Linked DNA regions of Homo sapiens: region 2 is linked to region 1. The links are contacts of gene promoters, found by promoter capture Hi-C in human tissues and cell types (Jung and others, 2019). All regions are on one chromosome and are shown on one strand. The core of a region is centred on a gene start or on the middle of the fragment in contact, and the rest is flanking DNA. Distances in the headings are between cores, read along the strand shown. Region 1 holds the start of SEMA5B (semaphorin 5B). Region 2 overlaps SEC22A (SEC22 homolog A, vesicle trafficking protein).

Region 1 (6,855 bases), core at 2,456-4,955:
TAATCAGGGATCTTGTCTTTTTGTCTTCTTTGTCCATTCTACCACCTCAGTCATCAATGAAAGTGGTGAACTGGTTGGCTGGTAATGAGTTGCTAACTCAGATCATTGGATATAAGAGGGTGACCAAGACTAAGCACGGGAGTGTTATGGTCAGTGTTCAAATAATTGGACCCAATAGCATCATCTTCCTAAATACACATACTCCATCCATAAATGTCTGCTGTTCCTCTATCCCCTTGATGGGTTCCCATCCCTCTTTTTAGATCCCCACTCAGGCATCAGGGCTTTCTGGATGTTCCTTGGAATCTGCAAACATCCAATGTGAGCTTCTAGTCTTATCTCATCTAACCCTATTGCTACATTAGATGAAACAAAAAGTTATGGTTGAATTTTCTCTTTTTTGTAAAAAATAAAATTGGTTTACACCCACTGGATTCCCAGTGGGAATGGGGACAGGAGATCTGAATCCAGTCTTTGCTCTGCATGTGGAACCTTATATCAATGGATGTGATGTGCTCAGATTTGAGTAAAACAAGATGGCTCCCTCAAGGAACTTATCATCTGACAGAAGAATCTTAATGGGCCCTGAGAATGAGGGTGAGCCAAGGGCCCAACAGGTCAGAGGTAGAACCAGGCCATGAGATATTCCAGTCAATCCCCAAGGTACAGGGAGACAAGATAACATGTATATCCAAGGCAGATGAGCTCACTTCTTAGAATCTTAATATCTTTATCTATAGATATAAGGGGTCAGGCTACTTAAAGGCTGTTAATTGATTTTGTTAGGATCATTTCACTTGGCCAGTTTGGCTTTGAACTCCCAATTGTCCATAAGCTGGGCCACTCTAATTGCCTGATCAACACACTGTGACCTGCCTGCCCTCTGTAGGCATTTGAATTTGTGCTTCCCCTGACATGGACAATCTCCAGGGCCTCTCCCAGCTTTGAGTCTCAATAAGAAGTGACCACTGTAGGGTCTTTCAAACAAGCCAGGAAGTTCATCCTAAGACAAGAAAGTTTCTGGGGCTCCTCCAGTCCTAATGGGGAGGTAGCAATCTACAGTGTTGGGCTGGACCTCTCGGCTTCTCTGGTTTTCTAGTCTGGCACTAGAAGTGGTAAAGGAACTTTTTCCCCTCCCTAGTGGGAAAGGAGGTGCTGGCTGTCCTATCTCAGGGCAGAGTCAATAAGCCCAGCTCTCTGTCCCACCTGAGTCATCGAGTTTTTTTTAACCCTTCCTCTCCTAAACCCTTGGGTCATCAGGCACCTTGCTGCCTGTACAGCCACTGCATGTTCCTCTCCATGTTCTCCCTCCCCAAACACATAGACAAGTGTCTCAGGATCAAACTGGTGAACTTACTAACCTCTCTGGGCATGGGCTCGGCCCTGTACCTCTTTTTATCTACCAGCATTTAGCATGGTGCATTGCACATAGTAGGTGCTTAAACAGTGTTAGATGTCCACGGTGATGATTATGGTCGCTACTGTTGGCTTTGGAGGAGGAAGGCTCTGGCACTGGCTGCTTGGAAAAAGAAAAGGGATGGAAGATCTGCCATTCCTTCCCAAACTGGTGGTGATAGGTGTTGATATGGAGAAAAGAGCTCCCCCTGAAACCCACACTCACCTACACACACCTTTCCCAACACAGCAAGCCAGAGGCAGCCCTGCCCCGAGTGGTCTACCCCCACGCCCCAAGGCCCAGAACAGTTCTCACCGCCCCATGAGTGACCAAGTGGCAAGTTCCCCCATCTCTCCTATATTTTATCTCCTTTCCTCCTCCGTTGAAAATCTAGACTTCGGGAAAGGTACTGGCTGTTTCTTTCCAAGCTGCTTTCAAATCTGCCCCCCTTTTCCGTAATCTTGAGGTCCAGTTACAAGGTTCAAGTTCCCCTCTTGCCCCTTCCTCAAGGTCATCTGTCCCGGCTTAGAAAAGGTGAGAGGCCACTGCTGATTGTCAAGAAGAGAACAGGCTTAAAAAGATGAGCTGAAGTGGGGAGGCCGAGGAGCAAGCAGGCAGGGAGGGCTGTGGAGAGAGGCCCCGAGGCCGAAGTGGGTTGGGGTGCCTGAGAAAAGCGGAAGGAGGTCGGATTCACTAGGGGCTGAAGGAAAAAGATGGGGTTAGGGCCAGAGAAGGTAGGATCGTGGTGAGGTCTAGACACAGGCAAGCTTCCAAACCCTCAGTCCCAATTCCGTTGGCCGGGAAGGAGTGCATGCCAGGGTAGCCCGCCCTCCCGGCTCCTGCTGCTCTCACCCCGCCCCTCTGCAGAAAGCCTGGGCAGGATCGCAGGGGTGCGGGCAGAATCCAGCGCTCCTCTCTCCCCATCCAGACTCTCGGCCCACTCCCGCCTGGCGCGGCGGGCAGTCGGAACTACCCAAAGACTGGGCTCGAGGTGGGGGGCGGGGGCGGGGAGGAGGGGGCCAGAACGGCGCTGCAGGTGATCCTCCTCCTTGTTTAAAGTTTGCGGTGGGCAAAGGAGTCGGCTCCGTTGGGCCGGGTTTTCTCGAGCCTCGCCTTCTTCCTCCGCCGGTCCGGCGACCACTTCCCTCTTGGCTCCCGCCCCGCGCGGGTCCCCGATCCCCTCTCCCGTCTGCATCCCTCTCTGTGCCCGAGCGCCCCCCGCTCCCTCCCTCCTCGCTGGATCTCCCGCAGGACGTGAGCGGAAAGTGAATGGGCAGCCCCAACCACAAAGACAAATTACCATGAGAAACATAAATCGGGAAATCGCCGCTCGCGTCCCTGCTTCCAGCTGCCGCACCCCTCTCCACCCTCCCAGCCGGGAGTGCGGGGCCCTGAGCCACTGCCCCTGGAGCCTGGTGGGCAGAGTTCACGCTCCGCAGGCCTGGTCAGGGCAAGAGTGTCCTGGAGGCGGGTCTGGGAAGAATCCGGGCGGCGGCTCCGCAGGCGGCGGCGGTGGAGCAGGGACGTCCCTGAGCGGGAGATTTCACACTCTGGGCGGGCCACGCGTTCCCACGCGCCTCGCCGCCCGCACTCTCCCTCAGTGCTGTTTACTAGCCGGCCCTCTCTGAGCCTCCATCTCCGCACCTCTGTCCCTCCGTCCCTCAGCCTCACTCGTCCGTCTCCTTCTCCAGGCCTGGGTCCCGGGTCCCCATCGCCGCTGCAGCCCAGATGCGCCGACCACAGCCCTGGCAGGGCCCAGTGCAACCCGGACCCAAGCTGGCTGGCGGCGGGAACGCAGCAGCGATGAGGGCTCTCAAGCCGAGGTGGCAGCGGGAGGCGCGGAAGCCAGGGGACCCCCTGTCCTCCCGCCCGCAGCCTCACCTACCTGGCTTCAACTTGCCAGAGCCCGGACCCCTACCTCTCTACCCCGATACCCACCCGAGTTGCTGAAGTTTGCAAGTTGCAGCCCCAACCCGCGCAGGGGAAGCGCCCGGGGCTCCCGGGACTCACCTCCCAGAGGCGGGTGCAGGTGCCCGGTTCCCCGCGGCTCCCGACTCCCGGGCGGCGCGGAGCGGCGGGAGCTAACCAGATGGGCTGGCGGCCGGTCTGGGAATGGGGCGGCCGCGCAGGAACGGCCTCCAGCTCTCAGCGCTCCGGTGCAGTCCCCACCCGGGCCCGCGCCCGCTGCGCTCGGGCTCCCAGCAGCCGCTGGATGCGCTGCCGACCCGCCCGGCTCGGCGGAGCTGGGCTCTGGCACCAACCCCCGCGCTCCAACTAGCTCCCGACCCGGCGCTCGGAGAGAGCAGGGAGGAGGAGACCGCGGGAGCAGAAGGAGGGAGGGGGCGGTGGGGGAGGAGTTGCAAGCAAAGGGAGAGAAGGAGGGGAGCGGGAGCGAAAAAGAGGAGGGGGCTGGAGCAGACCTGCCGCGGCGGGCGCTGCACCCGCCAGCCTCGAGGCGCGCGGAGGAGCGCGAGGGGGCGCCCTGCATCCCGCGGCTGCTCGGCCGACTCCCGCCCCGGGCCTGCCGAGTGTGGTGACCAGCCCGGTGGGCCGAAGCCCCTTCCCCGGCCGGCATTCCGGCGGCAAGACCTAGGACTCCGAGCACTTGCCGCCGTTTGCCACATCCCGCCTTGCCGTTCTCGGTCACCCCATCTCGAATGTGACATCCCCGAGGGCCATCGGCGCGGCCTGCCCACCCCAACACTCAGGGCCTGAGGAAGCTCCCCCAAACCCCACTCCGGACTCCCACATTCCCCAGCCCCGTCAGTTCGGAACGATCTTCCTGCCTGTGGATTTGAAGGGGAAGGGACCTCGTGTAAAACGGGGGAGAGCCGTTATAACCTGCAGCGGCAGAGAGGGAGGCTAGGCTGCTGGGCTGGGCTGGAAAGCCAGAACTGGCCGGATTAGGGTTAACCTTGCAAACTGTACGATACCGAGCGAACCTCTCCAAGCCTCAGTTTCCTCAGCTGTAAACTGGGGTTAGTAATACGCACCCTACAGAATTGTGAAGAACGAGTAGGGGATACGGGGAGTAAAATAACATCAGGAACAGTGGGAGGGCAGCCAAGAGATGAGCGATCCGGGGAGGTGGTGGAGCGTTCTCAGCTGAGGACGGAAGGTTTAGCGCAATCACAAGGAGCGAGGCCGAATTGTTTACAAGTTTAAGTGATCTAGTGTTTCTGATGGCTAGAAGGCGGGAGAGAAAGATTCAAGGGGCAAGCTTCAAATCCTAGCTGCCCGGGCTGCAAGAGGGATGGGAAGGGAGCCCTCTGCTGAACAAAAAATATATTTGAAAATGTAAAAAAAGGTGACCTAAGAACGAGTGAGAAAGACAAAGGATTTGAAAAATTAAAACCAGGAAAGTGTGATTCTAAGAGATAACCAAAGAGAACTATGAAATAAAAATAGATAAGTTGGAGGAAGGAAAATATCAAAAGACTTTCTAGAGTATGCCAAAAATTGGATAATTAGAACAAAGTCTGAGTGAAGCATTTTACATAATAAAATTCTGGGTAAAGGAAAACCCAGATAAAGCAGAAGAATTGAGACACTAAGAGCCCCAGAGAAGCACCTCCTGCCTGCCATCCTCCTACCCCTGGACCATGGCAAGAAGCAGTTTGACAGGATAATGGGAAAGAAAGGGTGGTTCTGAATCCAAGAAGGGAGTTTATGAGACACTGTAAAAAGAGAAACAGTGCAAGATCTCAAAGATAGACTTTCTAGGGCAACAGAAATGCTGAAACTCATAATGTGCAGAATGGAGAGAAACTTGCAAAGGGAAAACACGCTCTGGACACAAAGGCAGAGATGCAGAGAAGAAAAGAAAGGAAACGGGCATGTGTGGGCATACCAGTCTGGTAGCCCAGTCTGGGGTAAAAATCAAGTTGGAAGAGGCAGCATGGGATATTGAGTCCAAATCTATCATTTTATCAACAAGGACAATGAGCTCTGGACCATTCTCCCAGAGTCCCAGGCTGAGATAGGGATAGGTCTCCTGATCTCCACCGTGGAACCTTTCCACTGCAATGAGCGTGCCCCCCCCCCAACCCCCATTCCCTGCAGAGCCATGGGGAATGTTTTTGTCATCACAAAAAATAGAAGTATGTGCAATATAGAGATACCTTTTAATTAACACAAAAAACCACGAAGCTATTCCATACTGCAGGACCAGGGAATGAACAGGAGAGCTTCCAATTTGTCTGGTTGGGAGAATAGACAAAATGCCTTCTGAGTGGCTCTGTCAGCCACAGCTCTCCCTTGAAAGATAACCAAAATATTCTCCACCCTTCACACATTCTCTCACCTGCCCTCTTGTTTGCTACCATGTTTTGATTGTGTTCATTCTTTTCTTCCCACTATCATGTCAAGGCCTTTCCTGGCTCTCCCTCTCCATGTTATAAAGTGGAGAGGGGGTTTGGGGGCTTGGCACAGGAAGGGAAGAGAGGAGACTCCAGGCTGGGGACACAAAGAGGGAAATTTTCCTTTTCAGGGGAAGCAGGAGCCAGGACAAGGAGGCACCCAAAGAGACAGACCAAGTAGCAGGGCAGCTAGCAACATTGGGCTAATTAATCCTAATTGCATCCTAAAGCATTGTATTGATTAACAGTGATTACTCAAGAGCTCTCAATACAAGAGAGCTTCAGAAGCCCAACCCTCCGGAAGAGACAGTTTCTTTACTGGCCTGGCTTACCACCTGCTCTTTGGCAAACCCAGCCTGGTTAGAATCTCTGAATCATTTACTTGGAACAAAACCTGGAGCATTGATTCCATCACCACAGTATCACAACCAGCTTCTGCCACCTTCCTTAGACCTTTGCAATAACCTATAAGATAATTGCTTCTGTTAGGAGCAATTCTTCTTCTACCGAAACATTGTAATTAAGCAGAATGGAAATATAGTAATTAACACAGTGTTATCTCAAGCAAACAAGCTAAAGAGCGGTGAATATAGGGGGTGACGGAGTTTTTAGGATTCACTCTTGACCTAGAAATTCCAAACTTATCTTGAACTAAGGTTGAAAGAGTTTAAGAAATAGATCCAAATTCTCATGCTCAAGAGCAGGAAAGGGTGGAAAAGCTAGGAGCACAACACTGTCTTCTTCCTCCCACCTGAGGGCATTTTCTGGGAGATAAAGCTAAAAAATGAGTGCAGGCTCTCCCAAGAGGCCATCTCTCTCTCTCTCTCTCTCTCTCTCTCTCTCTCTCTCTCTCTCTCTCTCTCTCTCCCCTCTATGTGTGTGTGTGTGTGTACACATGCTTGTGCATAGCCCAGGCACAAACACAAACCTTGTCTTGCAGCAAAAGGCAAACAGCCAGTCATATACTAATAGGAGACAGAGAATTGAAAATAAAAAGACAGCACGTATAATGTCCAAATTGTTTTCTGCTCCCAGAATTGCCTGCTCATTGTGCCTGGGGATGGCAAAGAAAAAAGAAAATTCCCACCCCAGAAGTCATTG
Region 2 (6,855 bases), core at 2,180-4,679, 200 kb after region 1:
CCCAAAGAAGGAATACTATCGTCAACAGTTGTGAAATGATATAAACTTTTGCTTAAAATGAACACCTCATTATTTTATAAGGTAGCATATGCCATTGTCAGACTATTTGTTTAAGAAAATTATTCCAACCTAAGGCTTTAGGAAAAAAAAAAAACTTCCTTATATAATTGAGCTAAAGTCAGCTTCCCTATGTCTACTAGTTTGTTTTGTGATCTGTTCCTCCCTTCCTTCAGCAGAACCAGAATAACAGTTAAGTCAGCAACTGTGTGTCCTTTCCATCCTCTTAGACTAGTCTACTTCATATAAATATCTCCAATTCACCAATGAGAACACATGGACACAGGGAGGGGAACATCACACACGGGGGCCTGTCAAGGGGTTGGGGGCAAGGGGAGGGATAGCATTAGGAGAAATACCTAATATAGATGATGGGTTGATGGATGTGGCAAACCACCATGGCACATGTATACTTATGTAACAAACCTGCACGTTTTGCACATGTATCTCAGAACTTAAAGTATAATAAAAAAAGAAATAAAAATGTAAGACAATATCAACTATAGAATACAAAGCAAACACATTTATCATTGTATATTGACAAAGGGCAAAATTTTCAATTAAACTGCAACAAACATGCACCTTTTTGAATCACGAGGTCAGGAGTTCAAGACCAGCCTGGCCAAGATGGTGAAACCCTGTCTCTACTAAAAATACAAAAATTAGCTGAGTGTGGTGGCAGGCACCTGTAATCCCAGTTACTCGGGAGACTGAGGCAGAGAATTGCTTGAATCCAGGAGGCAGAGGTTGCAATGAGCTGAGATCGTACCACTGCACTCCAGCCTGGGTGACAAAGCGAGCTCCATCAGAAAAAAAAAAAAAAAACTCCAGTTCACTTAGCCTTTTCATTTATGGCATTTCAAGTTCTCCCCATCCTAGAAGCTTCCTCTAGACATGCTTTAGTTTGTTAATATTCTTTAAATTTGGACTGAATACAACACTTCACATACAAATGTGGGAGAAGAGGGTAACAAATTTCATTAAAATAATCCAGTCAGTTAGTAAACAAGCAGATAACAATAACAAGCCCAGTTGGTCAGGGGTGGTAGGGGGAGAGTGGGCTAGTACCCACATTGTTACAATATGTTATCTAAAATGTCCAATTTCCAGTAAATTATAAGACATGCAAAGAAACAGGAAAATATGGCCAGGTGTGGAGGCTCACACCTATAATCCCAGCATTTGGGAGGCCAAGGCGGGCGGATCTCCTGGGGTTGGGAGTTCACGACCAGCCTGACCAACATGGAGAAATCCCGTCTCTACTAAAAAAAAAAAAAAAAAAAAAAATTAGTTGGGCAGGGTGGCACATGCCTGTAATCCCAGCTACACGAGAGGCTGAGGCAGGGGAATTGCTTGAACCCAGGAGGCGGAGGTGGCAGTGAGCTGAGATTGCACCATTGCACTCTAGCCTGGGCAACGAGAGCGAAAACTCCATCTCAAAAAAAAAAAAAAAAAAGAAAGAAAATATGACCCACACACTGTGGGCATGGGGTAGAGGGGACAGAATGTAGGTAACAGAAACTGCCTCTGAGAGCAATCAGCTGTCAGATTTAACAGACAGAGGCTTCAAAGTAGTCATTATAATCATGTTCAAAGACTAAAGGAAACTATTAAAGGAGTAAAGGGGGAGGTATGATAATGTTGCATCAAATAGACAATACCAATAAAGAGAAATTATTTTTAAAAAACACAGTGGAAATTCTGGAATTAAGTAAAATTACTAAAATGAAAAATTCACTAGAAGGGCGTAACAATAGATTTGAACTGGCAGAAGAGTTAGCAATTTGAAGATAGATTGATAGAGATTATCTAATCTGAAAAACAGAAAAAAGAATGAAGAAAAATGAATGGAACCTCAAAAAAATGGGGCATGCTAACATAGGTGTGATAGGATACCGAAGAAGAAGGGGGAGAAAAAGCAGAAAAAATATTTGAGGAAATAATGGCTGAAAAGTTCCCAGATTTACTGAAGAACATTAGTCTGCTCTTGCAGGAAGCTCAGTGAACTCCAAATGGGATACACACGAGATCCACAAATAGATGAATCATAGTAAAATGCTGAAAACTAAAGACAAGGAGAAAGTCTTGAAATCAGCAAGAGAAAAAGAACTTGTCACTTACATGAGTTTACCTGTATAACAAACCTGTCCCTGAACCTAAAATAAAAGTTAAAAGGAAACCAAAACTCATCACTTACAGTGAACCTCAATAAGATTAACAGCTGACTTCTTAGCAGAACCAATAGAGACTAGTAGGCAATGGAATGACATACAAATTGCTGAAAGAAAGAAAATAAAAACTACCAGTAACCAAGAATCTTATATCTAGCAAAGTTATCTTTTAAAAAAATGAAGGCAAAGTAAAGATATTTACAGATAAATGAAAGATAAGAGAATTCGTTACTAGCAGAAACACCTTATAAGAAATAATAAAGGAAATTCTTGGCTGCATGTTGTGGCTTACGCCTGTAATCCCAACACTTTGGGAGGCTGAGGCGGGCAGATCACGAGGTCAGGAGTTCAAGACCAGCCTGGCCAACATGGTGAAACCCCGTCTCTACCTAAAATACAAAAATTAGCTGAGCATGGTGCCACACGCCTGTAATCCCAGCTACTCAGGAGGCTGAGGCAGGAGAATTGCTTGAACCCGGGAGGCGGAGATTGCCGTGAGCCGAGATCGCGCCACTGTGCTCCAGCCTGGGCAACAGAGCAAGACTTCATCTCAAAAAAAAAAAATAAATAATAATAATAATGGAAATTCTTTAGGATGAAAACAAGTGACCCTAGAAAATAATTTGAATCCATTTGAAAAAAAGCAAAGAACAAGGGTAAATGTAATTAAGTAATTAAAAAAGACAGTAAAGGCCCGGTGTGGTGGCTCATGCCTGTAATCTTAATACTTTGGGAGGCCAAAGTGGGAGGATCCCATGAGCCCAGGAATTTGAGGTTGCAGTGAGGTAGGCTGCCCTCCAGCCTGGGCAGTAGAGCAAGACTCTGACTCGTAAAAATACATTAATGCATTTTTCTTCTACTCTCTACTCTTAACTGATTTAAAAAGTGATCATATAAAACAGTGTATATATAATGTCATTTGGGCCTATAACATATAGAAATGTAATATGTTTTCGCATACAGCAAAAAGGACATGGGTGGTATTAAAGTTGTACTGGGATAAGGAAATTACTCCAGATGATAATTCAAATCAACAGGAACTAATGAAGGAAGCCAGAAAGATAAGATAAATATTAACAAGAGCTATAAACATATAATTACTATCCTTTCTTAGCATTTTTGGAAGACATAAAATTATAGAAGGTCATAATTTATAACAATGCATTATGGAGTTTGTGATGTTTATTGATATGTATAACAGCAATACCACAAAAAGGAGATAAAGGGAATAGAGCTATATAGGAGTAATGTTTCTGTGGCTCATTAGAATATAGTATAAATTCTTGCAGTTAAGATGTACATGGTAAGCTTAGAGCAACCACAAAGCAAATAAAAAGTAGTGAAAAATTATTAAAGTAAAATACCGTACTACCAAATATTCACTTCATGCAAAAAAAAAAAAAAAAAAAAAAGTGAAGGAGGGATAGAGCCAAAAAAGGCATGAGATGGATAAGAAAAAAGGGAAAAAATGGCAGATGTAAATCTATATCAGTAATAATGTTATATATGAATGGATTTAAAAAGTGTTAATATATTAAATAATCCAGTCAAAAGATGGAGATTGTAAGATTGGAGTAAAAATAAAAACACAAGATGCAACTATATGTTGTCTTCAGGAGACATACCTTAGATTCAAATATACAAATAGATTGAAAGTCAAAGGATAAAAAAAGATAAATGAAGAGGAAAAGAGAGCTGGAGTACCAATACTAATATCAGACAAAATGGACTTTACGACAAACATTGGTATGAGAGGTAAAGCATGACATTTTATAATGATAAAAGGGTGAATCAATTAAGATAGAGCTATAAACATACATGCATTTAACAACAGAGCCCCAAAGTACATTAAGTAAAACCTGCCAGAAGTGAATACAGAAATAGACAATTGAACAATGGTAGTTGGAGACTTAAATACACAACTTTCAATCATGGATAGAACAATTAGGCAGAAGATAAGAAAATAGAAGACTTGAACACCTGCACCACCATATGCCAGTGAGACATAACAGACATCTATTAGGATACTCCATTTAACAACAGAATTTATGTTCTTCTCAAGTGCATGTGAACTATTCTCCAGGATAGACCTTATGCTAAGCTAAACAAAACAAAAAGAAAAACAAAACCTTCATAAATTTAAAAGGATAGAAATAGTACAAAGTATGTTCTCCAGCTACATTAGATGAAATTAGAAGTGAAAACAGAAAGAAATTTGGGAAACTCACAAATATGTGGAAGTTAGACAGTACATTCCTAAATAGTGAATGGGTCAGAGACTAAATCAAAAGGGAAATGCGTACTTTGAGATGAATGAAAATGAAGATTCAGCATACCAAAACTTACAGGATGTAGTAGCAAAAGCTAAATTTAGAGGAAAATTTATCGCTGTAAATGCCTATGTTTAAAAAAACAAAAACCAGATTTGAAGACAACTTTCCACTTAAAGATAATGGAAAAAGAAAAGCAAATTAAACCTAAAGCAAACAGAAGGAAGGAAATAACGATTAGAACAGAAACAAATGAAATAGAGGATAGGAAAACAGTAGAGAAAAATCAACAAAACCAAAAGTTGGTTCTTTGAAAAAACTGACAAACCCTTAGCTAGATTGACCCAGAAAATAATTACTCAAATTAGAAATGAAGGGGCCAGGCACGGTGGCTCATGCCTGCAACCCCAACACTTTGGAAGGCTGAGGTGGATGCATCACTTGAAGCCAGGAGTTCAAGACTAGCCTGGCCAACATAGCAAAACCCCATTTCTACTAAAAATACAAAAAATTAGCTGAGCATGGTGGCACGTGCCTGTAATCCGAGCTGCTCAGGAGGCTGAGGACGAGAATTGCTTAAAACGTGGGAGGTGGAGGTTGCAGTGAGCTGAGATCACACCACTGCACTCCACCCTGGGTGATAGAGCGAGGCTCTGTCTAAAAGAAAAAAGAAATGAAAAGGATGGCATTTCTACTGACCTTCTAGAAATAAAAAGGATTATAAAGAATACTATAAACAACTGTCTCCCATTAAATTCAATAACTTTGATGAAATGGATAAATTCCTAGAAAAACACCAACTACTGGTAATGATGCAAGAAGATAATATGAATAGATCTGTAAAAGCAAAAAGATTCAATTAGTAATAAAAACTACCCACAAAGAAAACTCCAGGCCCAGATACATTTACTGGTGATTTTTACCAAACAGTTAATGAAGAGTTAATAACCAGTTATTTACAAACAGTTCCAAAAAAACAGTAAAGGGCCAGATGCTGTGGCTCACACCTGTAATCCCACCACTTTGGGAGGCCGAAGCAGGTAGATGGCTTGAGCTCAGGAGTTCAAGACCAGCCTGGACAATGTAGTGCAACACTGTCTCTACAAAAAATACTTCCGTATTCTGTGAGGCCGGTATCATACTAATACCAAAACCAGGCAAAGTCATCACAAAGAAAGTAAAATGCAGACCAATATATCTTATGAATATGGACACAAAAGTCCTCAGCAAAATACAAGCAAACCCAATCCAGCAACGTATTTAAAAAATTAGGCCAGGCGCTGTGGTTCATGCCTATAATCCCAGCACTTTGGGAGACTGAGGCAGGAGGATCACTTGTGCCCAGGAGTTTGAGACCAGCCTGGACAACATAGGCAGACCCCATCTCTACAAAAAATTTTTAAAAATTAGCGTGATGGTATGCATGTGTAGTCCCGGCAACTCAGGAGGCTGAGGTGGGAGAATCATTTGAGCCCAGGAGTTTGAGGCTGCAGTGAGTAATGATGACACCACTGCACTCCAGCCTGGGTGACAGAGCAAGACCATGTCTCTAAAAGAAAAAATTACAGTTATGTGCTACATAACAACATTTTGTCAGTGATAGACTGAATATATGGTGGTGATTTCAAAAGATTATAATAGCATATTTTTACTGCACCTTTTCTATGTTTAGATACACAAATACTATTGTGTTACAGTAGTCTACAGTAGCCAGTACGATAACATGCTGCACAGGTTTGTAACCCAGGAGCAATAGGCTATACCATATAGCCTAGGTATGTATTAGGGTATACTATCTAGGTTTGTGTAAATACACTCTATGACGTTTGCACAGCAATATCACCTAATGACACATTGTTCAGAATGTATCCCCATTGTTAAAGGATGCATGACCTGCATAAATCCTGACCAAGTGGGATTTATCTCAGGTGTGCAAGGTTGCTTTAACATCCAAAAATCAATTAATGTAATATATTGATAGAATAAGAAATGAAAAACACATGATTATCTCAATACATGCAGAAAAAGCATTTGACAAAATTCAACAGCCTTTCATGGCAAAAAAACAAACAAACAAAAAAAAACACTCAACAAACTAGGAATAGAAGGGAAGTTCCTCAACTTGATAAAAGTCCCTTATGGAAAACCCACAACTAACATTATATCTAATGGTGAAAGACAGGATGCTTTTTCCTAAGATCCAGGGACAAGACAAAGATGTCTGCTTACACTACTTCTAGTCAACATTATACTGGAAGTTCAAGGCACAGCAGGCCGTTGGACAAGGACAATAAATAAAAAGGCATGTAGATTGCAAAGGAAGAAATAAAATAACACCATTCACATATGACGTAATC

What was found. The method cuts DNA at HindIII sites, captures the fragments that hold promoters and counts their contacts. A contact is called where the count stands out against the background at its distance.
Region 2: a fragment that was not itself captured here is called in contact with the fragment with the promoter of SEMA5B in region 1 in 1 of the 25 tissues and cell types used here (liver).

Annotation. Positions count from the first base shown.
Region 1 is chr3:123,024,058-123,030,912 of GRCh38, forward strand. It overlaps SEMA5B (semaphorin 5B), which reads right to left and starts at 3,706. Exons shown (of 23, transcript NM_001031702.4): 1 at 3,407-3,706. RefSeq lists an enhancer at 4,310-4,817. The HindIII fragment of the contact is 5,774 bases long and covers 291-6,064 here.
Region 2 is chr3:123,227,082-123,233,936 of GRCh38, forward strand. The region is part of intron 4 of SEC22A (SEC22 homolog A, vesicle trafficking protein); the gene reads left to right. Among named protein-coding and RNA genes, the nearest start is that of SEC22A, 29 kb to the left of the region's middle. RefSeq lists a silencer at 2,078-2,278. The HindIII fragment of the contact is 6,296 bases long and covers 282-6,577 here.